6 separate regions of the Homo sapiens genome follow, and all the other regions are linked to region 2. Evidence: promoter capture Hi-C in human tissues and cell types (Jung and others, 2019). All regions are on one chromosome and are shown on one strand. The core of a region is centred on a gene start or on the middle of the fragment in contact, and the rest is flanking DNA. Distances in the headings are between cores, read along the strand shown.

The links. The method cuts DNA at HindIII sites, captures the fragments that hold promoters and counts their contacts. A contact is called where the count stands out against the background at its distance.
Region 1: a contact is called between a fragment that was not itself captured here and the fragment with the promoter of ADNP2 in region 2, in 10 of the 25 tissues and cell types used here (IMR-90 fibroblasts, adrenal gland, aorta and 7 more).
Region 3: a contact is called between a fragment that was not itself captured here and the fragment with the promoter of ADNP2 in region 2, in 4 of the 25 tissues and cell types used here (IMR-90 fibroblasts, aorta, lymphoblastoid cells and 1 more).
Region 4: a fragment that was not itself captured here is called in contact with the fragment with the promoter of ADNP2 in region 2 in 7 of the 25 tissues and cell types used here (H1 embryonic stem cells, IMR-90 fibroblasts, hippocampus and 4 more).
Region 5: a contact is called between a fragment that was not itself captured here and the fragment with the promoter of ADNP2 in region 2, in 2 of the 25 tissues and cell types used here (IMR-90 fibroblasts and lymphoblastoid cells).
Region 6: a contact is called between the fragment with the promoter of HSBP1L1 here and the fragment with the promoter of ADNP2 in region 2, in 5 of the 25 tissues and cell types used here (IMR-90 fibroblasts, adrenal gland, lymphoblastoid cells and 2 more).

Annotation. Positions count from the first base shown.
Region 1 is chr18:80,249,863-80,252,786 of GRCh38, reverse strand. No RefSeq gene overlaps it. Among named protein-coding and RNA genes, the nearest start is that of PARD6G, 3.8 kb to the right of the region's middle. The HindIII fragment of the contact is 3,076 bases long and covers 98-2,924 here.
Region 2 is chr18:80,107,969-80,110,684 of GRCh38, reverse strand. ADNP2 (ADNP homeobox 2) reads right to left here and starts at 1,423. Exons shown (of 4, transcript NM_014913.4): 1 at 1,213-1,423. RefSeq lists silencers at 902-1,001, 1,202-1,361 and enhancers at 1,171-1,672, 2,499-2,716. The HindIII fragment of the contact is 8,526 bases long and covers 1-2,716 here.
Region 3 is chr18:79,880,745-79,883,603 of GRCh38, reverse strand. All of the region lies in intron 3 of KCNG2 (potassium voltage-gated channel modifier subfamily G member 2), which reads right to left. Among named protein-coding and RNA genes, the nearest start is that of SLC66A2, 69 kb to the left of the region's middle. The HindIII fragment of the contact is 7,076 bases long and covers 1-2,859 here.
Region 4 is chr18:79,859,204-79,862,119 of GRCh38, reverse strand. All of the region lies in intron 2 of KCNG2 (potassium voltage-gated channel modifier subfamily G member 2), which reads right to left. Among named protein-coding and RNA genes, the nearest start is that of KCNG2, 63 kb to the right of the region's middle. The HindIII fragment of the contact is 4,051 bases long and covers 1-2,916 here.
Region 5 is chr18:79,898,010-79,900,750 of GRCh38, reverse strand. KCNG2 (potassium voltage-gated channel modifier subfamily G member 2) reads right to left here. Exons shown (of 4, transcript NM_012283.2): 4 at 651-1,711. The coding sequence ends at 935. Among named protein-coding and RNA genes, the nearest start is that of SLC66A2, 52 kb to the left of the region's middle. RefSeq lists silencers at 1-202, 1,168-1,462. The HindIII fragment of the contact is 4,873 bases long and covers 1-2,741 here.
Region 6 is chr18:79,963,193-79,965,892 of GRCh38, reverse strand. It overlaps HSBP1L1 (heat shock factor binding protein 1 like 1), which reads right to left and starts at 1,250. Exons shown (of 4, transcript NM_001136180.2): 1 at 1,107-1,250. The coding sequence starts at 1,157. RefSeq lists a silencer at 1,024-1,593 and an enhancer at 2,689-2,700. The HindIII fragment of the contact is 12,330 bases long and covers 1-2,700 here.

The DNA.
Region 1 (2,924 bases), core at 386-2,885, 140 kb before region 2:
GGACAGAGGGGACTACATATCAAGCTGGGTACGGTCTGAATCCAAGCCCGTCTTCCTTTGGGGCTAAGGATGGCTCCAGGAAGTTGCTTGTTCACTGCCTTCTGTGTGATGCTGTTGGTTTTACAACTTGAGTGATCAAGCAGCATCTTCCGGGAAGATTTCCCCACATATCTAAGAATAAGGAGTTGATGCATATCCATTTAGAGTGAATGAACTCTTCACACCTAGCTTCAGGATTCTTGCTTTGGCTAAGACCTCAAGGCCAGAAGACATGAGTGCTTCCTTAATGTTTGTATTGCCAGGGCCCGGTACAGGCCGCCACCATGGCAGAATTTGATGAATCAGAGACATTATCTTGGAGATGGCCGTAAACTGGACCACCAAGAAACCATGCTGAAATAGACAAGAGGAAAAGCATGCAGTTTCATCTAATAGGAAATCAGTAGGGCCTGCAACTGCTTTGAACCTCTGAAATGCTTTGGGAGTGTGCACGAGGAGATGAATCATGCTGATGAATGGATGCTGTGTGGCTGAAAACTGACCACGCTTTTCTGCCATAAAATCACATTCTGATACATTCACCAAGTCAGTGAAAAGCTTTACGGACTGACTCTTTTTAAAACAGATCCTGAGACTCTAATCCATGCTTAGTGTAATACTTGGAACAAAGACTGTGCTTCATGTTCTAGGTGCTTTTATTTGTATTTTGTAAAAGTGTCCCAGAGTTTTAATGCAAAGTCAGAGACAGCTGCGTAAGGTTTACCACCTGCCTTTTGTCTTCCACCTGGGGGTGGACATGCAGGTCACACCGCAAGCTGGTTGAGGAGAGAGCCCTTTGCACCAATCTAGGGGATGCAACCAGGGCCACTTTGTAGGATGTGGGCAGATGGCTCTGGAATGCAGGGAATTCATTCTATTCTGGCCAACGGTGCCATCTGCTGAAAGAGCTACTGGTAAGTCAATTTAGGCATGAAGCTTCCATTGAGAGTCAAGATATTACTGCATCAAAAAGGCAGAAGAGGCTAGACACAGTGGCTCACACCTATAATCCCAGCACTTTGGGAGGCCGAGGCGAGTGGATCACCTGAGGTCAGGAATTCGAGATCAGCATGGACAACATGGTGAAACCCTGTCTCTACTAAAAATGCAAAATTAGCCGGGCGTCGTGGCACATGACTATAGTCCTAGCTATTTGGGAGGCTGAGGCAGGAGAATCGCTTGAACTCGGAAGGCGGAGGTTTCAGTGGGCCAAGATCGCGCCATTGCACCCCAGCCTGGGCAACAAGAATGAAACTCCATCTCAAAAATGAAAATTTTTAAAAAAGGCAGAAGAGGCCTCTTTGAGCAGGGGAAGAGTAAAGGGTAAAAAGAAGGGATGCCTTTATATGAGAATCAGGTGATAATGAGGCATAACTACTCTGCCATTTCCTTATTTCAATCGAATATCAGTTCTTTGCCTGCCTCATCCGAAAATATATTAGAATGCATTGCAAATGCAACAGCCTGCTGGTTCAAATATTACAGCGATGCTTTCCTATTACCCAACGAAATTATCTTAGAGAATGTTTTCTTAGAACATATACATCAGCAACAAATGTTCAATCATAAAAGAGCCTGCTCTCATCATAAAAGAGCCTGCTCTCATCATAAAAGAACCTGCTCTCATCTTTTTTTCAACAGGGTCTCACTCTGCTATGCCCTGGAGTGCAGTGGCATGATCACAGCTCACCACACACTCGACCTTCCAGTCTCAAGAAATCCTCCCACCTCAGCCTCCCCAGTCTCAAACAATCTGCCCCTCTTGGCCTTCCAAAGTGCTAGGATTACAGGCATGAGCCACTGCAGAGGGGCCTTCCAAAGTGCTAGGATTACAGGCATGAGCCACTGCAGAGGGGCCTTCCAAAGTGCTAGGATTACAGGCTTGAGCTACTGCACCCAGTCAAGGAATACATTTTACTGGGTCCACAACATACTTCCTTTTTGCTCCTGATGGTTCAGTTATTAGATGGGTTCTTAGAAGCCGTGATTTGAGGAAGATTTAACCCCTACCCATTCCTATTTTCTCTCTCATTTTCTGTCTGAAACAAGTCAGCCTCTCAGAGGCTCCCATGACCCCCAGTTGTGTGAAAAGGCAGGCTATCAGGCCAGGATCTGAGGAGTCTTTTCTCTCTCTCCTTTCTTTTCTCTTTCTTTCTTCTTTTCCTTTTCCTCCCCCACTCCCTTCTTTTTGCTTAGATGAGGTCTCTCTCTGTCACCCAGGCTGGAGTGCAGTGGCACAATCATAGCCCACTGCAGCCTCGACCTCCTGGGCTCAAGCAATTCTCCCACCTTGGCCGCCTGAGTAGCTGGGACTATAGGTGTGTCCCACCATGCCCAGCTAATTTTTTTTTTTTTTTGGAGAGACAGGGTTTCACCATGTTGCCTAGGCTAGTCTCAAACTCCTGGCCTCAAGCAATCCTCCAGCCTCAGCCTCCCAGTGTGTTGGGATTACAGGTGTGAGCCACTGTGTCTGGTAGGAGAGGGCTTTTGTTTTTTCCAATCTGGCTGCTGTACTGTGTAAAAGCCTTTCCAGCTGAAGGCTCAGTTAATTTTTTTTTGGTCTATACCCGCCTGAACCTAGAGCTCAAAGCCCTAGCAAATCCAGTTCAAGTCTCAGCTGGAAACTCAAGCTCCACACGCAACAGCAAGCTTTCCCAGCCTTTCCTCCTGCTTTTGCCTGCAGATCATGCCAATCAAGAACTGTGGAGCAACAGATGATTAAGATAAAGGAGCAGCACCTCTCAAACTTCAGTGTGGACATGAATCACCTGGGGATCTTGTTCAAGTGCGGATTCTGATTCAGTGGGTCTGGGTGGGGTATTGCTAACAAGTGCCAGGTGGAGCAGATTTTGGGCCTTACACCACACTCTGAGCCACAGGCATTG
Region 2 (2,716 bases), core at 174-2,673:
TCTCCAAGAACATCTTTAAATAAGTTACACATACATTACCGACTTCCAAATACAGCTGAACATGTACTTTACACAACTCTTTTTACATGTGGTCCTCTCTCCCACTAATGCTCCTCACCCCCAAAAATGGTACCCAGACTCCAAACCCCCTCTTTTGATAAAGGCTCTGCGTGGCAGATGCCCACAGTACTCTACAAACTGCTGCCCCACTTGCCAATCTGCATTGTCAGTTACCTGCTTACCAGTTTCTCCTCCCCCACCCCACTCCTCCACAGCCAGTATATTCCTCAAGATCCCAAGAGGCAGTGATTACCCGTGCAAATAGAGTAAGTTTTAAGCACGCAGGCAAGTCTTCTGTTCAAATAAACTACTTAAAATATCTAATTATTTCTCATTCTGCATCTGTACAGTATTTAAAAGGGCAGTTAAAATTAACATTCCAAAGTCAACTGTAGTAGAAATTTTGTAAACGGAATCTATTTCAATGCAACCAGCAACGGCAGATGAAAAGTAATGTTAAAGTCAACATCTGTATATCAATTATTGATATTCGCATCAAAAGCTCAACGATGAAGAAACAGGGCCCCGTTATCAGCTGTTCTTCAAACCTTTCTAGGGAAAAAAAAACCTGGGCAGATTTAGGTGTCACCGTCAGCTCCTGACCTACATCTGCCGTCACTCAAGGCTCCTCCAGAGAGAAGCTTCCAGGAGAACCCGGTCTCGGGGATGCGGCGGGCGGGCCAGCGGGCGGGGCGTTTCTGGAGTCCTTACAGGGGTCGCCACAGCTCCTTGCCCCCTCTCTTCTTCTCCATCCCCGTTCCCTCTCCCTCTACTCCTCGCTCCCTTCACCAGCCCCCCTCTCTCCCTCGGTCCCCGTCCTCGTCTTTCCCCTATTCCTACTCTCCCCTCAGGTCCCCATCCCCTTCTCCGCCCTCCCGGGGCGGCCCCCGCTCCCACGTGACCGGCGGCGGGCGGGGCGGGCCGCGGGCGCGTCGGGGGTCGACGGGCGCCGTTCGGGCCGCGAACCCGCGCCCTGAGAACGTCCCGGGATTCCCGAGGCGGCCACGGGCGGCGCGAGGGCAGGCGGCGGGCGTGGGTGTGGGCTGGGTACCGGCGGGGGCGGGGCTCGGAGGGGACCAGACTGGGGCGGGGGCCAGGACCGGGGCAGGGGGCGTCGCCGCGCGGGCCCGCGCCGGGCCGGGCCGTACCTACCGCTTGGCGCCCGAGGAGCACCGCGTCTCCGCTGCTGCCTCTCGCAGGGCTGCCGCGTCTTCCGCCGAGCGCAGCCGCGTCCCGTGGGGCCGCCTGCGCCCGCCCGCGCCTCCGCCCCGCGCGGCGGGACCCCCGCCTCAGCGCGCGCCCACCCCCAGCGCGACTGGTCCCCTCCTCCCGCGCAGCCAGAAAGAGAAAATGGCGCTCGATTGGCCTCAGGAAGTGACGTTGGCCCTCATTTGCATGTAGGCGCAGCCAGCCAATGAGAGCAGAGTGTGCTTGGGGGCCCCTGGCACTTCCCACAGGCCCCCCGGGGCCCCTGGCTAAAGATGGACTGGAGGCTCTGGGGTGGCAGTGGGGGGCCCCTGTTGGACCCCCTGACTCCCTTCTGTCCCAGGGAACTGCCCTGCCAGCTCCTTTCCACATCTGTGCAAACTCTCGTGAGAGTTTGAGTGGGCAATGACGTCACTAAAGGGGTGGGGAGAGTGTGTCATCAACCATGTGACTAATCACGTGGACTCACCACAGCTTTGACTTCATTTGCATGGAATGGGGTGGAGCTAGTGGCAGCTCCAGGAGTGGTGACCCCGCCCACATCTCAGAGCCAATGGGAGCCCAACTGTGATAATGCTGCCTTGCCATTGGAAGACAAAACTTTGGCTCCCAGAACTGGGACAAGTGTGCCATGATTGGCATATCCTGGTGAACCGACTAGCTGGGGTCTCCTGACTTCATCATTCCTGTGGGAAAGTGATCACACCTTCTCTTGAGAATTCTGATTTTTAGATCTACTACAAGTTGTGTGGGGAGAGGGTTAATTGCATACATTTGTATAAACTCTTAACCTAAAAGTTCATTTTTGCACAGGTGTTTATCAATTGTGTAGCAATAATAATTTATTCCACAAAATTAGTGGAAACATGGCGTAGGGCTTTCAAAATGGCTCTAGGTCTTCGTTCCGTGGAGTCCCCAGGCCTCTGGCGGACGCCCTCGTGCCCCAGAGCACGTGGGAGTAACCACGAGGGCAGCGCAGGCGCCTCCCCCAGTGCCCCTAACCTTAACCCTAATTCTGACCCTGCACCTGAACCTCACCTAGCACTAACCCTGACTCTGACCCTAACTCCCCTCCAGTGTTCCTTCCCCTGACCCTAACTCAGCCGCGCCCTCAGTGGCTGTTCCAGGCAGTTCCTTCTTGGCGAAGCCGTCTGCAGGACACGTGCCCCTTTCAGCACAAGGCCACGTCTCCTTCCAGAGCGCCGAGCCCCTGCAACCCGCCGCCAGCCTCCAGCCCTGAGGCCCACTCCAGCCACCGCGGGGCAGAGGCCGTGCCCAGGCTGGGCCTTCCGCCCACCGCCCTCTCCAGAGCCTCCTTGTCACCATCCGCTCGTCCATAATTTCAGCTTTTCCCTCTCAATGGGAGCCTTCTGCTCAGTTTAGCCCAGTGACTAAACACATAATAGGCACTAAATTAATGTCCATATTCGTTTTAAAACTGTGTTAAATG
Region 3 (2,859 bases), core at 201-2,700, 230 kb after region 2:
CACCAGACAAGTGTCCCCTGGGTCACGGCCACAGCCAAGGTTCTGGGGCCCAGGGTGGTCCAGGCGGGGCAGGGTATAAACTCGTAAAACTCTGCACTAATATATTTTAAAAGCCTTCAAAGACTGTGTGCACTTTGACCTAGAAATTCTATTTTGGGGAGTTGTCAGGGAACGTCAGAAATGAGCCCAAAGATTTATGCAAAAGGACCTGCTCGCTCATCAGAGCTCAGCTTTATGGGTCTGGACAAATCACGGTCCTGGAACCACCACTACCGCGAAAACGCAGCGCAAAGACGCAGGACAGCTCCCCCAGCTTCCCCCCGCCGTTCCCTGCCTCACAGCCGGACCCCGCCCACCCAGTCTTGGCCCCCAACCCCTGGCTTTCCCAGGTATCCCATAGACGGGATCGCAGCGTGGCTTCCTGGCCTGGCCTCTCCCGCGTCAGGCCCTGCGAGCCCATTCGTGCTGTCCCGGGCACCCACCCTTTGCTGCTTTTCACCGCGCACCGTGGATGCACCGGGATTGATCTGGCACCGGCCGTCGCGGTCCGTGTCGGCTGCTTCCGGGCTAGGCCGTGCTGAATAAAGCCGGCTGAACACTCGCTCTGTACGTGACACACGCTGTCCTTCCCGCGAGTACGTCCTGGGCGTGGGCGCTGGTGTGCGATGAGCGCAGGTGTACCCGGCCTCCGCGTGCCACGCGCAGATGTACCCGGCCTCCGCGCTCCACGCGCAGGTGTACCCGGCCTCCGCGCTCCACGCGCAGGTGTACCCGGCCTCCGCGCTCCACGCGCAGGTGTACCCGGCCTCCGCGCTCCACGCGCAGGTGTACCCGGCCTCCGCGCTCCACGGCAGCCTCGCCACTCCATGGCAGCCTCGCCACTCCATGGCCTGCAGGTCCTGAGCCTTGCCGGCCGCGCACCCTCCTTTGAGCTTGCTGCTCTCGGCTGGTTTTTAGATCAGGGCCCTTCTAACATGTGAGTGACAGCTCCTGTGGCTTAACTCTGTATTTCCCTAATAACAGTTCAGCGCTGTATTTGCCATAGGCGTGTCTTCTTTGGTGAAGTGTCTGTTCAAAACTTTGTCCCTTTTAAAATCAGGTTATTTTCTTACAGTTGAGTTTATACAGTTCTTTATATAGCTTAATTACAAGTCCTTTGTTAGATATGTGATTTACAAATATTTTCTCCCAGTCTGAGGCTTGTTTTTTCATTCTCTTAACAGTCTTTTGTGGACAAAAGTCAAAAGAATTTTTTTAATAGAGATGAGGGTCTTGCTATATTGCCCAGGCTGGTCGTGAACTCCTGGGCTGAAGTGATCTTCCCACCTCGGCCTCTCAGTGTTAGGGTTACAGGCCTGAGACCCCAACTAGGCCAGGAGTTTTAGATTCTAATGAAGTGAAGCCTATCCATTTTCATATTTCATGAATCGCGTATCTGACGCCACGTCTGGGAACTCCTTCCTTACTCTCCATTGGCAAGGCCACCTCTATGTTTTCTTCTACAAGTTTATAGTTTTAAATGTTATATGTTTAGGGCCACGGTCCACCTTGAGTTGAATTTTTGTATAAAACGTAAGGCATGGGTTGTGTTTTTTTAAAATATGGGAGTTCAGTTGTTGTAGCCCCATTTGTTGAAAAGACGATTCTTTCTCCGTGCCCGGCCTTTTCACTTTGCCAAACGCCGGCTGGCCCCATTCATGTGGTTCTATTCCTGGACTGTGTCCACGACCCCACGCCTGTCCTTTCCCCACACTGTCCTGCTGTGGCTTCAGAACAAATCGTGAAAGCAGGCAGTGTCAGTTCCAACTGCTGCTTTTTCAAAACGGTTCCTAGGCCTTTCCATAAAGATGTTACAATCAGCTTGTAAATATTGCAGAAAATGGGATTCTGAATGGGATTTCACTGAATCTGGAGATGGACTATGGGGAGGGTGGACATCTTAGTCACACCGAGTCTTCAGCGCGTGAGCACTGCAGGCCTTCGTTGATTTCAGTCTTTATCAGTAATTATCAGCTGTATTTAGCTGTAATTATCAGCACGTAGATGGATCCTGGACCTAGGCTGTGAGACTTGCATGTAAGCAATTCATGGTTTTTGGTGCTATTAATGAACTTTAAAAAATTTGAATTCCAATAGTTCACTGCTAGCAACTCCCTTAATTTTCTTAAGCTTTGTTGTGGGTTTCCTGGGAATTTCTACATAGGCAGTTCTGTTCTCTTGCTTTCCAATCATACGGCGTGTTTCTACATAGGCAGTCCTGTTCTCTTGCTTTCCAATCGTACGGCGTGTTTCTACATAGGCAGTCCTATTCTCTTGCTTTCCAATCGTACGGCGTGTTTCTACATAGGCAGTCCTATTCTCTTGCTTTCCAATCATATGGTGTGTTTCTACATAGGCAGTTCTATTCTCTTGCTTTCCAATTGGACAGCGTGTTTCTACATATGCAGTTCTATTCTCTTGCTTTCCAATAGTACGACGTCTACTTTCCTTGCTTCACTGCTCTCTCTAGGACTGCCAACAGGTGCTGAAGAGGAGTGGGGAGCAGGCATCCTTGGGTTGGTCCCAATCTTAACGGGAAAACATTCAGTCTTTTGCTATGTATGTTGTTAGCTGTAGGGTTTTTTTGGTAGATGTTCTCTATCAGGAAAAGGAAATTCCCTTCTATTCCTAAATTGCTGAAAGTGCTGTTTTAAAAATCATGAATGGATACTGAATTTAGTCAAACGCTTTTTCTACATCTGTTGAGATGAACAGCTGGCATTTTTTCTTTGGTGCATTAATATTGTGAATTACATGGGTTGGTTTTGAGTATCGAACCAAGCTTGCTTTCCTGAGAAAAACCTCAGTTGGCCGTGATGT
Region 4 (2,916 bases), core at 379-2,878, 250 kb after region 2:
AAGAAACACAGATATTGGACTCACCAGAAAAGATTTCACATAAGCTTATTTAATATCTTCAAAGAGCTAGAGGAATTTGTGAGAATGATGTCTCACCAAATACAGAATATCAATAAAGAGACAGAAGTTATATTAAAAAAAAGTGATAGAAATTCTGGTGTTGAAAGTGTAATAGCTGAAATGAAAAGCTCATTAGAGGGTCTCAGCAGCAGCTATGAACACGCTGAAGAAATAAGCAGAGAAACTGGAGATACATCATTTCATGCTATCCTATCTGAGGAGCAGAAAGAAAACAAGTGAAGAAAACGGAACAGAGCCTAAGAGACCTGTGGGACCATCACATGTACCAGCTTTTGCATAGTGAGAGTCCTGAAAGGAAAGAGGGAACAGGGAAGAAAGAATATTTGAAGAAATATGGTTTAAAAACCCTCCAAATTCGATGAAAAACATTAATCTACACATCTAAGAAACTCAACAAACTCCAAGTAAGATAAATTCAAAGACATCCACACTGACACACCACAAACTGTCTAAAGACAAAGACCCGGCACAGTGGCTCATGCCTGTAATCCCAGCACTTTGGGAGGCCGAGGCAGGTGGATCCTCTGAGGTCAGGAGTTTGAGACCATCCTGGCCAACATGGCAAAAACCTGTCTCTACTAAAAATACAAAAATTAGCGGGGTGTGGTGGCAGGTGCCCGTAATCCCAGCTACTCGGGAGGCTGAGGCAGGGAGAATTGCCTGAACCTGGGAACGGAGGTTTCAGTGAGCCGAGATCGCGCCACTGCAGTCCAGCCTGGGTAACAGAGTGAGAACTCCATCTCAAAAAAAAAAAAAAAAAAAAAAGAGAGAGAGAGAAGAAAACAGAGGCAAAAATCCTCCACAAGACATGAGCAAAATAAATCCAGCTTCATATTAAAAGGATTATACATGATGACCATTTGATCGTTTACCATAGAGATTTATCACAGGAATACACGGGTGGCACAATACACAAAATTACTATAATACGCTCATTTATAGGATGAAGGGAAAAATCATGCGATAATTTCAATAGAGGCAGAAAAAGGATTTGACGAAGTCTAACATCCTTTCCTGATTAAACAAAAAACTCAATCAATAACTAGGTCTAAAAGAGAACTTCCTCCACATGACAAGGTCCACGTAGGAAAAACTCACCGCTAACTCCATAGTCAACGGTGAAAGACTGGATTCTTTCCCCTAAGACCAGGAACAAGACTGAAATACCTGCTCTCATCAGTTCTACTTAACATTGAACTGGAAATTATAGTCAGAAAAATTAGGCAAGAGAAAGAAATAAAAGGCATCCACACTCAAAAGAAAAAAGTAAAACTATATTTTGAGATGACTTGATCTTATGATCTTATGTACAGAAAACCTTAAAGAACACACACGCACACATACACATACACATGCGCACACACACACACACACATCACTATGAGAATGGGTTCAGCAAAGTTGCAAGACATGAGATCGGTAAAAAAAATCAGTTGTATTTCTATACAAAAGCAATGAATAATCGGAAAAGGAAGTTAAAAAAATTCCATTTATAAGAGCATCAGAAAGAATAAAATACTTAGAAATAAATTTAACCAAGGAGTGGAAACTGAAACCTACACTGAAAACTGAAAACTACAAACATTGGTGGAAGAAATTTTAAGACTAAATAAATGAAAAGACATTCCATGCTCATGTATTGGAAGACTTAATATTGTTAAGATGGCAATCTTCCCTAAATTGATCAACAGAGTCAATCCAATCCATATGAAAATCCCAGTAACTTTTTTGAAGACATTGACAAGTTGAACATTCTATTGACAAGTTGAAAATTCTATTGGAAATGCAAGGTAGCCAAAACAAACTTGACAAAGGACAAAGTTGGAGGGCTCAAACTTACTTGATATCATTTTATTACATGCCTCCACCTAAATCTTGTGTCGAAATGAGATCTGTTCGTTTAAAAGTGTGTGGTACCTACCCCGCAACCTTGTTCTTGCTTTCACCATGTAACGTGCCTGCTCCCCCTTTGCTTTCTGCCATAACTGGAAGCTTCCCAAAGCCTCCCCAGAAGCTTAGCAGACATTGGCACCGTGCCTCCTTTACAGCCTGAAGAACCATGAGCGAATTAAACCTCTTTTCTTTATAAATTACCCAGTCTCAGGTATTCCTTTATAGGAATGCGAACATGGACTAGTACATTACTACTTACTCAAAGTGAGTATAAAGCTACAGCAATCAAGAGTGTAGTACTAGTGTAAAGAGAGACATAAAAATCAATGGAGCAGAATTGAAAGTCCAGAAATGAACCCATAAATCTACCGTCAGTTCACTTTTGACAAGGTCGTCAAGACTATTCAATGGAGAAGTAATAGTGTCTCCAACAAACGGTTATCCACATGTAAAAAAATAAAGTTGGACCCTGCTATCGTTTGGATATTGGCCTCCAAATCTTATATTGGAATTTGATACCCAGTGTCGGAGGTGGGGCCTAATGGGAGGGGTTTGGGTCATGGGGGCTGATCCCTCATGCATGGCTGGGAGGTGTCTTCATGGTAATGAGTGAGTTCTCGCTCTATGAGTTCACTCCAGAGTTGGCTGTTGAACCCGCCTGGCACCCCTAGCCCTTGCTTCCTCCATCTCCGTGTGGTCTCTGCACACACCAGCTCCACGCCATCTTCTGCCATGACTGGAGCTGCCTGTGGCCTTCCTCAGATGCAGATGCCTGATCTTGAACTTTTCCAGACATCAGAATCATGATGACATCACAAGCTTCTTTTTAAAATGAATTACCTGGCTCCAGGTATTCCTTTATAGCAACACTGAATGGACCAAGATGCCTACATCACACTATATATAAAAACTAATTCAAACTAGATCAAAGACCTTAATGTA
Region 5 (2,741 bases), core at 103-2,602, 210 kb after region 2:
CTGGGGCTTGCACTCAGCCACTCACCGGGGCCATGCACGTCTCCTGCCCTTTCTCCACACCTGCGTCCCCTACAGACTCCTGCTGCCGTGTAATGGACAGTGGGACCCTCTGGTGAGGTGTCCCCCTCCTGCTTCGGGCTGCGGCCACCATGTCTCAGGTTTCCTGGATGAACTCATTAAAATGAAGCATAGAGCAGCGCGATGTCGAAAGTTCCTTCCAGAAGAACAAGGCCATGTTCTGGGACAGGAGGATCCCAGAAGAACAAGGCCATGGAGGGGTTGCAATGCCACACGCAACCTTGTGCAGAGGGAGTGTCAGGAGGCCCTTGTCACCCTCCCGGAGGTCAAGCCTTAAAGATTCCCTAGGGAGGTGGTGTCAGGGGATGGAGGTTAGAGGTCAGGGCTGGAACCCTCTTCCCCGACCCCCGAAAGGGCGGTTACTGCGGTGGCACTGGGGGTGCTGTGAGCATTGGCTCAAACCTCTGTCCCATCCCTGGGAAGGTGATGTGGCCTTGGGCAGAGGTGGATGCGGAGGGCCTCCTTCTGCAGGGACCTGCCCATTCCGGATGCCATGGGGGCTTGGCAGGGGCCGTGCTCCCTCCTCCCTGGCTGGAGGCAGGGGGATGAAGTCATCCACAGCAGGCGTGGAATCTCTCGGACTTACTAAATTTATTTTTAGCTAGGCGTAGAAAATTAAAAATCCAAGGAAAGGGGTGGGGCAGGAGGACAAAGGCCAGTGACTTTGCCCAGCGCTGCCACGGGGAGTCAGGCAGGGCCCCGCCAAGTTCTGGGGCTGCTCACGCACGAGGGCCGAGGACGCGGCCGGCAGGAGCCGCTCCCCCAGGCCAGACGCCCCCCACCCCTTGGCGCACCTCGGGGGTCCCGACGCTGCAGCTGGAGGGGGCAGGGGGTCTCCGTGTGGGCGGCGCAGGCGTCAGCGCCCTGCCCGCACCCACAGCGCATCCGCGGAGTCGTCGGCCAGGCCCGCGCTGTCGGGGCCCTGCGAGCTGTCCTCGGTGGCTGTGGCCGAGTGCGTGCTGTCCTCCTGCAGGGCCGGCTCGGGGCTGGCCGCGCGCTGCTGCTGCTCCTTGAGCTCGGAGTAGGAGCGCGAAAAGGTGTGGAAGATGGAGGTGACCGGGAAGGCCATGAGCAGGATGCCGCTGAGGATGCTGCTGAGCGCCACCACCTGCCCGGGCAGGCTGCGCGGGACCATGTCGCCGTAGCCCACGGTGGTCATGGAGATGACGGCCCACCAATAGCTGGCGGGCACGCTGGAGAAGTCGCGGCGCGCGCCCAGCTCGCGCTCGGCCAGGTGCACCAGTGGCGCGAAGAGCGCCATGGCCACGCAGAGGAACAGCAGCAGCAGCCCGAACTCGCGCGCGCAGCGGCGCATGGTCAGGCCCAGCGAACGCAGCCCCAGCGAGTGGCGCGCCAGGCGCATCACGTAGAGCACGCGCAGCGCACGCAGCAGCCGCAGCACCAGCCCCGCGCGCTCCAGGAGCTTGGTCCCGCCCGGGCCTGCCGCCAGCCCCAGCAGCAGCGACACGTAGAACGGCAGGAGCGCCAGGATGTCAATGATGTTGAGTGGCGCGCGCAGGAAGGCGCACTTGCTCTCGGCCTGCAGGGAGCGCAGCAGGAACTCGAAGGAGAACCAGGCCACGCACACGGTCTCCAGCACGAACAGGCTGCGGCACTTGGGGGAGCACTCGCCCTGCGGGGAGAGGGGACACGGGGTTGGGGGCGCAGGCCTCTTGGAGGGCCGGGGGCGCCTTGCCCTTCCTTTCCCAGGACCAGAGGCGTCCCCCAGGCCACCCTTCCCGCCCCAACCCACGGAAGCGGGTGCAGGGGATATTGACAGGCCCAGTTCCTGTTGGAAAAACCCAGAAAACCAGCAAGATTTCATGGTGATCACTTCGGGCTTGAGAGCGGATGCGCTTAGCTGACCCAGGAAACTGGTGAAAATAATGTTAAAACCCCTGACCTTTTAAAGCCTTGGGAAATGGTCTTAAGAGCAAACAGCAAACGAAGAAACATCTATTTATATGTGAAAATTCTGGAAGAAAGGTGAGCATTTGTGGTATCTGTGTCAAGACTGCATCCTCCTTCTCAGCTTGGCCAGGGGGAGACGCCACGTGGAATGGCTGCAGCCACGAACACAGACCCCCACCCCCACCTCCACCCCACCCACAGCTCCCAGTCAGGAGGGCTTCTTCCCTAGAAAGGGCTGACATCAGCATCTCACATTCCGCCCTCAGCTCCTGGGGCTACGTCCTTGGGGAGTCCGGTGGAGGGGTGGGGCTCCCTCCTCCTGCCCAGTCCCCACTCTCGTGGGTGGGAGGCTGGCCTTGGGTGTGGCACACTGAGAAGGCAGGGCCTGACTGCCCTTGCTGCAGTGATTCCAGGCCAGGAGAGGCCAATGGGGTCTCAGGGTGCTATCAAGCTCTCAGCTCCTAGAGAGGGAGGGTGTCATTCACACTGAGGCTCGCAGCTGTCCCCATCCCCCAAATCCCTGGCTCAGAGATTCCTGCCTGGAGGGAGATGAAGGAAGTAATCTCTTCTCAAAGGAACTGACTTCCTTTGCAATGGAACATGAAGAAGTTTACACCGAAGGGCACTCTCAACGCTATTGGAGGTGGTGGTGAAGGGAATTAGGATTCATGCGTGTGCTGACCACGTAGCCTAGACTGCACGCTGGCTAAGGTGCCGGGGAATGAGGGGAGAAGACAGCTGGCAGGAGCCCT
Region 6 (2,700 bases), core at 1-2,500, 140 kb after region 2:
GACTTCTGACAAAGGTGCTAAGGCCTTTGGATTCAGAGGGAAAGGAAAGTCTTTTCAACAAGCAGCGCGGGAATCATGAGGGCCACGTGCAGACGGGGCAGGGACCCATCCCCCTCCTCACACCACACACCATGAATGCAGGAGATCACACACCTTGGCCCAGAGCCAAGGCCATAAAGCATGCAGAGGAGGATGCAGGAGAAAATCTCGTGACCCTGCGCTCCTCAAGAATTCTTATGAAATTACTTACCAGGTCACACAGAAATACCACCATTGCTACTGAAAGCGTTTCCTGTTTATATACTGCTTTGTAGTTTACAGACTGACGTCCCACACCATTCACGGTGTAATCTACTCCTCACCCTGCGACCGTGTCCAGGGTGAGATGAGAACAGTGAGGCTGAGAAGCACAAAATTCTCCCAGCTGGGGGTTCAAGATCCCAGGGAGCCCCACGTACCATGGTGTGAATCTAGAATCCCGTCGACATAGGAGGAGGCCCCACCTCTGAACCATGCCAGGGCTTTCTACCTTTGTCAGGAAATTTACGTTAGGGTTTGCACAACGCCCAACACATTCCTTCAGATTCCAGGTCTCTTCCTCATAGCCAGTCCTCTTGTGGGCCTGGAACTCTTTGGCAAGTAGGAAGGCCTGGGGAGCGGGAGGATTTCCCGGAAGAGGCCGGAGCCCTGGGCGCTGCGACACTCGTGGGTCCCCTTTCGGGCACCCTTTGGCCCAGTTGTTTCCCCACTGACCCCGACCTCAATGCCCCCCAGTACTGCAGGGCTCCCCCCAGGACCTCAGGCCCCCCGAGGATCGCAGGGTCCCCCAGGACAGCAGGGCTCCCCCCTGCACCTCAGGCCCCCCCAGGACCGCAGGGTCCCCCAGGTCTTCAGGGGCCCCCCCAGGACCACAGGCCTCCCAGGCACTCAGGACTCCTCAGGACCACAGGAGTCCTCAGGATCGCAGGCCCCCCAGGACCTCAGGGCCCCACGAAGACCGCAGGGCACCCCCAGCACCGCAGGCTCCCCCCCCAGGACCTCAAAACCCCCCAGAACCGCAGGGGCGCCCCCATCCAGAGAGAAGCAGGAGTCGGGGAGGGGCTCACCGCGTCCCGCAGCGCGCGCCCGCCGGGGGCTTCAGGGCCCCGCACGTCCATGTGGACCGCTGGCCGGGGGCGTCAGTGGGGGGTCCCGTGGGCCGCGCGGACCCGGCGCGAGGTGGCGACAGCTAAGCTCCGCGATTCCCGTATGGGCCGCCGGGAGGCCTCGGGCGGAGCGCGCTGCGTTCCAGGGCGGAGGCGGGGCCGGAGCGGAGAGGCGGGCGCTGCACCTGCAGGGACGCAATGTCACCGAGCGGCCGCCTCGGAGGACTGGTCCGCGCCCCCAGGCTCTGCGGCTTCCCGAGCCGAGCCGAGCCGAGGCCCCGGGACGGCCTGGGCGGAGCCGCCTTACTCAAGAGGGCCCGTGGGCGCCACCGGCCACCTACACCCCCAAAACGCTCCGCACGGGCAGTGCATGGGCCTCGGTCACCCCTGCTGCGTTTCTCAGAGACGGGGGCTCGCTCTGTGGCCCAGGCTGGGGTGCAGTGGCGACTATGGCTCCCCGCAGCCTCGACTTCCCGGGCCCAAGCGATCCTCCTGCCTCGGCCTGGCCAGTAGCTGGGACCACGGGCGCGCGCCACCAGGTCCGGCTGATCTTTTTTATTTTTTGTAGAGACGGGATCTTACTATGTTGCCCAGGCTGGTCTCGAATTCCTGGGCACAAGTGATCCTCCTGCCTCGGCCTCCCAAAGTGCTGGGACCGCAGGCCTGGGCCACCACGCCGGGCCTTCCCTGGCCTCTTTCACACCTGGGTTGTGGCTCGTCACCTTGTGGGTGACCTCCCAGGACGGTGTTTTAGGGTTACCAGTCTTGTTGCCATGTCTGTGCCCCTGTGCAGCGCTGTGGGAACAGGGCTATGTCTGGTCACCCCAGCATCCCTAGGGCACAGCCCAGTGACCACACCTGGAAGCTCTGGTGTCTCCATGTGCGGATAAATAAAACACAGCCACCCAGCACCACCGCTGTGGCGTGGCGGTTCCCGCCAGGTTACTTCAGGGCGGATGTCTGTGGCCTGAACCCTAAAGGCCAGGCGGTGAGTCCAGGCCACGGTGCCCAGCGAGGAGCAGGTGTCCCTGAGAACCCAAACAGCCCGGAGGGGATGTGAGAACCACCACAGGGAGCAGGCCCATCACACAGACGGCGCAAAGAGGCAGAAAATTAGCTCAAAAGCAGCTTAGGGACAGAAGCACGCTCATCTCTAGAGTTGTCCTGCTGCCCACGAGTGCCCCACATGTGAGTCCTAATAAACTCACCTACTCACCAAGCTGGACTCCGCCCAGTCATTCTTTGGTCTCTCAGCAACTCCCACTTTAGGGTAAGGTTTTAAATGTGATTCTCGGTTTTTCTCATTACAACCAGTCATCAGGAAAACACAAACCAAAACCACAATGAGCTCCCACTGCAACCCACCAGCATGGCTAGAATCAGAGAGACAAACGTAAGTCCGAGAGGCGTGTGGGGATTGTGGCCCCCCCCACGCAGCCGGTGGGCTGTGAAAGGCTGCAGTGCTGTGAAAAAGTCGGGTGGGTCCTCAGAAGTGAAGCAGTTTCCACAGGGCCCAGCCGCGCCACCCCTAGGCATATACCGAAACGACAGCGCG